2 separate regions of the Homo sapiens genome follow, and region 1 is linked to region 2. Evidence: promoter capture Hi-C in 16 types of primary human blood cells and fetal thymus (Javierre and others, 2016). All regions are on one chromosome and are shown on one strand. Each heading gives the region's core, a stretch centred on a gene start or on the middle of the fragment in contact. The rest is flanking DNA. Distances are from core to core; before and after follow the strand shown.

Evidence for each region. The method cuts DNA at HindIII sites, captures the fragments that hold promoters and counts their contacts. A CHiCAGO score of 5 or more calls a contact.
Region 1: a contact is called between a fragment that was not itself captured here and the fragment with the promoter of SSTR4 in region 2, in 1 of 17 cell types (neutrophils). The highest score is 5.4, in neutrophils.

The regions. Positions count from the first base shown.
Region 1 is chr20:22,930,205-22,932,904 of GRCh38, forward strand. The region is part of intron 1 of LOC107985449 (a long non-coding RNA gene); the gene reads left to right. Among named protein-coding and RNA genes, the nearest start is that of SSTR4, 100 kb to the right of the region's middle. The HindIII fragment of the contact is 2,736 bases long and covers 1-2,639 here.
Region 2 is chr20:23,034,003-23,036,702 of GRCh38, forward strand. SSTR4 (somatostatin receptor 4) reads left to right here and starts at 1,310. Exons shown (of 1, transcript NM_001052.4): 1 at 1,310-2,700. The coding sequence starts at 1,482. The coding sequence ends at 2,648. RefSeq lists an enhancer at 1,851-2,397. The HindIII fragment of the contact is 5,481 bases long and covers 907-2,700 here.

The sequences.
Region 1 (2,700 bases), core at 22-2,521, 100 kb before region 2:
GTATTCCCGGGAAAACAAAGTATTTCTCTTATCTCAAATAAGGCATAAGCATGTTGAACAAGGCTAAGGGGGGCAGAACACGAGGCCAGGAGATCGAGACCATCCTGGCTAACACAGTGAAACCCCGTCTCTACTAAAAATACAAAAAAATTAGCCGGGCCTGGTGGCGGGCGCCTGTAGTCCCAGCTACTTGGGAGGGTGAGGCAGGAGAATGGCGTGAACCCGGGAGGCGGAGTTTGCAGTGAGCCGAGATTGCGCCACTGCACTACAGCCTGGATGACAGAGCGAGACTCCATCTCAAAAAAAAAAAAAAAGCGTGGACTTGCGGTGAGCCTGGCTGTTGCGCTGTCTGTGCTAGGAACAGTCTCACTGCTGTTCTGTTGAACATGGTGTCACTGTAATTTACGATAAATATCCTTTATCATGTTGAGGGCTTTCCTTTCTGCTTTCTGGTATGTATTATTATGAGAAATAAATATTGAATGTATTATATGATTTCTCAAAATTCTTTAAAAAAATTTCCTCTTTATCCTCTTGATGAATTGCGGTAGGTTAAACAGAAGTTAAACATTGACCCTGCCTCTTTTTCCTGAAAGAAACTCTATTTGATTAAAATATGATTCTTTTCATATAATGCTAGTTTTGATGTACTAGTATTCTATTTATTGTTTTTGCCTTTGTATTCATATGTGAAACTAGCTTTTAGTTTTCTGTTTTGGGGGGAATTAGTTTGTTCAGGTTTCACTGTTAGTTCATATGCTCATAAAATGAATAGTTCCAGAGCAGTTTATCATGTAAAGAAATAATCTATTCCCAGATAAAACTTTTCTATAAAACGATCTAGACATGGAACCTTTTGAAGAAATAGATTTGGACACTTTTCAGCCTTTGCTACAGTGATTGATCTGTGTACTTTTTAGCTTCTTGTTGGGTAAAATTTTGGTAATTTATGATTTCCTAAAGAAGCATTAAATTCTTGTGAATTTTAAAACGTTCCGGATGACATTTATATAAAATATTCTTTTAAAGAATACTTTATATCTACCCTCACATTTATTTTCTGCTTTGTGGTGTTGTCTGTTGTGCTGTCCATATTTTTCCTAAAGAGATGTGTAAGAGGCTGATTTATTTATTGGTCTTTCCTGGAAAGAGGATTTGGATTCATTTATCAGTTCTACTGTTTGCTTATGTGGGTATTTTTGGTGATTTTAAGTTAGGTAATGACTACTTGGTGTTTATAAATTCTTTCCTCTAACTTCCTTTGGTTCATTTTGTTGTACAATTCTTCATTCTTAAGCAACTTTTGGTTAATATATTTTTAAACATTTCTCCTCATTAACAAAAATATTGAATGCTATGGGTTTTCTTTATAATTTTGGACCAACATATAGTGTTCTCATTGTCTTTAACTTCTAACAAAGCCATAATTTTAGTTGTCATGTCTAGCTTAACCTAAGGTTTTTTTTTAAGTTATTATTTTTAACTTGGGGTGGTTATATTGGTGATAGAGGAAGGGGACACGGGAAATTTTACTTTTATTTTCTAATTGTATTAGTCAAGGTTCTCCAGAGAAACAGAACCAATCGGCCTGAGAACAAAGAGAGTTCAGGTTGCAAGTTCCAGTCTGAGTCCAAAGGCCAGAACCAGGAGAGCTGATGGCATCAGTCCCAGACCAAGAGCCGGAGGAAGCCAGTATCCCAGCGCAAGCAGCCAGGCAGACAGAACAAACTCCTTCCCCGGCCTTTTTGTTCTATTTGGGTTCTCTGTGGTTGGACTGGAAGATGCACACCCTTATTGGGTAGGGCAATCTTCTCTACTCAGTCTATCAATTCAAATGTGAGTCTCATCTAGAAACTCCCTCTCAGATATACCCAGAAATAAAACCCCATGGCCCAGTTCAGTTGACACATAAAGTTAACTATTACACTAGTTTAATTGCACTGTGATTAGAGAATACCACTCTTTGAGGCTTTCTTGAAATTTCCTTTGGCTCTAAAACATGATCAATTTTTGCCAATGTTTCATGAGCATTTGCAAAATGTATTCTCTCATCAGCAAAAATGCTAAAAGTATCTCTTAAATAAAGTATGCTAATGCAGTTTTTAAGTGATCTGCATTTTTATTTATATTTAGCAATATGTTTGGCCACTCCTGCAAGGAGTTTGTTAAACACTGTGCCTCTATCTTGTTTTTATGAGGTTCTTACATTTCTAACAGTCATTGCTGCAGATGCGTCACTGACATTTATACATGCACTTATACATAAACATTCAAGAGCTTTTCATTCTCTCGGTAGATTTTACCTTTGACTTTAAATGATACCTCATGTGATATCAATATTGATGTTGCTGCTTTCTTTTTGTGGTATTTTCTTTGTCCATCCTTTAAATTTCTTTGTTCAATTTCTAAACTTATTTCTATCTAAAAATAATATAGTGGTTAACAGTGAGGCCTCTGGAATCTAATTATCCAATTCCCCAGCTCCAGGGTATTACTGTGGCCACTTTTCCATCTGACTGTGTCCCTGTTGAGACAGTGTATGTGAAAGTGTGTGGGAAAATGCCTAGTGTATAGTATGCACTGAATACATTTTACCTGTCATTCTTTTTATTACTTTTAATTTATATTATAAATAGCAAAGCTTTTTTCTTACAGTGAAGCATTAGATTTTACTTTTTATGTATACTCTGAGTATCTATA
Region 2 (2,700 bases), core at 60-2,559:
TCCCATCCCACACCTGGATAAACAGCAGTGGGCAGCTTCCCCCACCCCCCAGTCTTAGAAAGGCCTCCTCCAGTTGCAACAGGACTCCCTCCTCCCCATCGCTGTCCCAGCCACCCAGCGGAAAGCTGAGACCCCACCCCCCAGGTGGCCAATTTTAGACCCACTAAAGGCCTTTCTGGGCTGTACTGGGGGCTAAAGGGGGCCACCATCCCACAGAGAAGGGGCCAAAGACAGCCAGGATCCTAAAAGTCAGAGCTACTTTAAGAATAACTTTCCCAGGCCAATCCCCAGTTCAGGAACGTTCCTGTGCCCTGTGCCAGCTAGAGGGACTAGGGCTGGAGCCGGCGGCTGCTCCTGGGTGTCCAGTCCAGGAGCCAGTGAACTCACTATCTCTGGAGTTTAGCAGAAGAAGGGTAATTCCAGGCCGGAACCCCTTTCTTTCCCGACCTCTCGACCACAGTCCTCCCCAGGCACATTTTAGTGGCCAGGGATGGAGACCCGCGGATAATGACTGAACCAGGTCACAGGGTGAAGGTTCTGAGATGTCCGGCTCCCGTAGCTTCTGCCAGTTCCCGAGGGAGCTAGCACAGGCTTGGCCTTCTTTGGTGGCATCTCTGCCTCCACCTGTCCGTCTCCATTCCTTGTGCCCATAGCACCTCAGCTGCTCGGACACAGAAGTTAAAAGGTCCGGCATCTGCACTTGTCCAGAGTGGGTTGGGGAGCAGAGAAAGGAGTGGTGAGCTGTGGGGAAAACTGGACATCCTGACAGACCTGAAATTCACCAAGCCGCCAGTGGAAGCCTCAGGTTCCGCCTCTATAAAAGGGACTCAGCCATGTGCAAGGATGGGTCGTCGCGAGGATTAAAGGGCAGGGTGAGGGGATGTCAAGTGCAAGGCAAGTGGTCCAAGCTTCCAGGTGGTCCCTGACCAGTTCCGGGCACATCTTTACCCAAAGGGAGGACTCCGGGACCCCCAGCCCCGCCGCCGCAGACCCCCTGTAGCAAAGCAGGGAACTGGACCTCAAAGGGCTGCTGGGGAAGACGGGATCTGAATAGAGGTCTGAAGGAAAGAAGCCAGGCGGGGGACCCCGGGAGGGCCGGACGGGGCTGGGGGTGCTGTTGACACTGGAGCCGGACTGGAGACCTGGGAACCTGGGGCAGAGTCGGCAGCGGGGAGGGGGCGACCGAGGTGGGAAAACGGGGCGGGGCCGGAGACGACTCCAGGGCTGGGTGAGGCGCTGACCCCCAGGAGCTGGGGTGCCGAGGGGCGCGGGCCACAGCGGTGCGAGCCAGTCGGGCGCCCGCGCGGTGGGGCGCGCGGCGCGGGGATTGGCGGGCGCTCCCCGGTGCCCGCAGCTCTTCAGCGTAGCCGGGAAGAGCCGCGCGTCTGCGCGCCAGCCCCCGCCCTGGGCCCGCCGCCCGAGCTCTCTGGCGCAGCGCTAGCTCCGCCGCGCTCAGCTGCCCTGCGCCGGCACCCCTGGTCATGAGCGCCCCCTCGACGCTGCCCCCCGGGGGCGAGGAAGGGCTGGGGACGGCCTGGCCCTCTGCAGCCAATGCCAGTAGCGCTCCGGCGGAGGCGGAGGAGGCGGTGGCGGGGCCCGGGGACGCGCGGGCGGCGGGCATGGTCGCTATCCAGTGCATCTACGCGCTGGTGTGCCTGGTGGGGCTGGTGGGCAACGCCCTGGTCATCTTCGTGATCCTTCGCTACGCCAAGATGAAGACGGCTACCAACATCTACCTGCTCAACCTGGCCGTAGCCGACGAGCTCTTCATGCTGAGCGTGCCCTTCGTGGCCTCGTCGGCCGCCCTGCGCCACTGGCCCTTCGGCTCCGTGCTGTGCCGCGCGGTGCTCAGCGTCGACGGCCTCAACATGTTCACCAGCGTCTTCTGTCTCACCGTGCTCAGCGTGGACCGCTACGTGGCCGTGGTGCACCCTCTGCGCGCGGCGACCTACCGGCGGCCCAGCGTGGCCAAGCTCATCAACCTGGGCGTGTGGCTGGCATCCCTGTTGGTCACTCTCCCCATCGCCATCTTCGCAGACACCAGACCGGCTCGCGGCGGCCAGGCCGTGGCCTGCAACCTGCAGTGGCCACACCCGGCCTGGTCGGCAGTCTTCGTGGTCTACACTTTCCTGCTGGGCTTCCTGCTGCCCGTGCTGGCCATTGGCCTGTGCTACCTGCTCATCGTGGGCAAGATGCGCGCCGTGGCCCTGCGCGCTGGCTGGCAGCAGCGCAGGCGCTCGGAGAAGAAAATCACCAGGCTGGTGCTGATGGTCGTGGTCGTCTTTGTGCTCTGCTGGATGCCTTTCTACGTGGTGCAGCTGCTGAACCTCTTCGTGACCAGCCTTGATGCCACCGTCAACCACGTGTCCCTTATCCTTAGCTATGCCAACAGCTGCGCCAACCCCATTCTCTATGGCTTCCTCTCCGACAACTTCCGCCGATTCTTCCAGCGGGTTCTCTGCCTGCGCTGCTGCCTCCTGGAAGGTGCTGGAGGTGCTGAGGAGGAGCCCCTGGACTACTATGCCACTGCTCTCAAGAGCAAAGGTGGGGCAGGGTGCATGTGCCCCCCACTCCCCTGCCAGCAGGAAGCCCTGCAACCAGAACCCGGCCGCAAGCGCATCCCCCTCACCAGGACCACCACCTTCTGAGGAGCCCTTCCCCTACCCACCCTGCGTGGCCACCTCCCAAGGGGTGGGCACC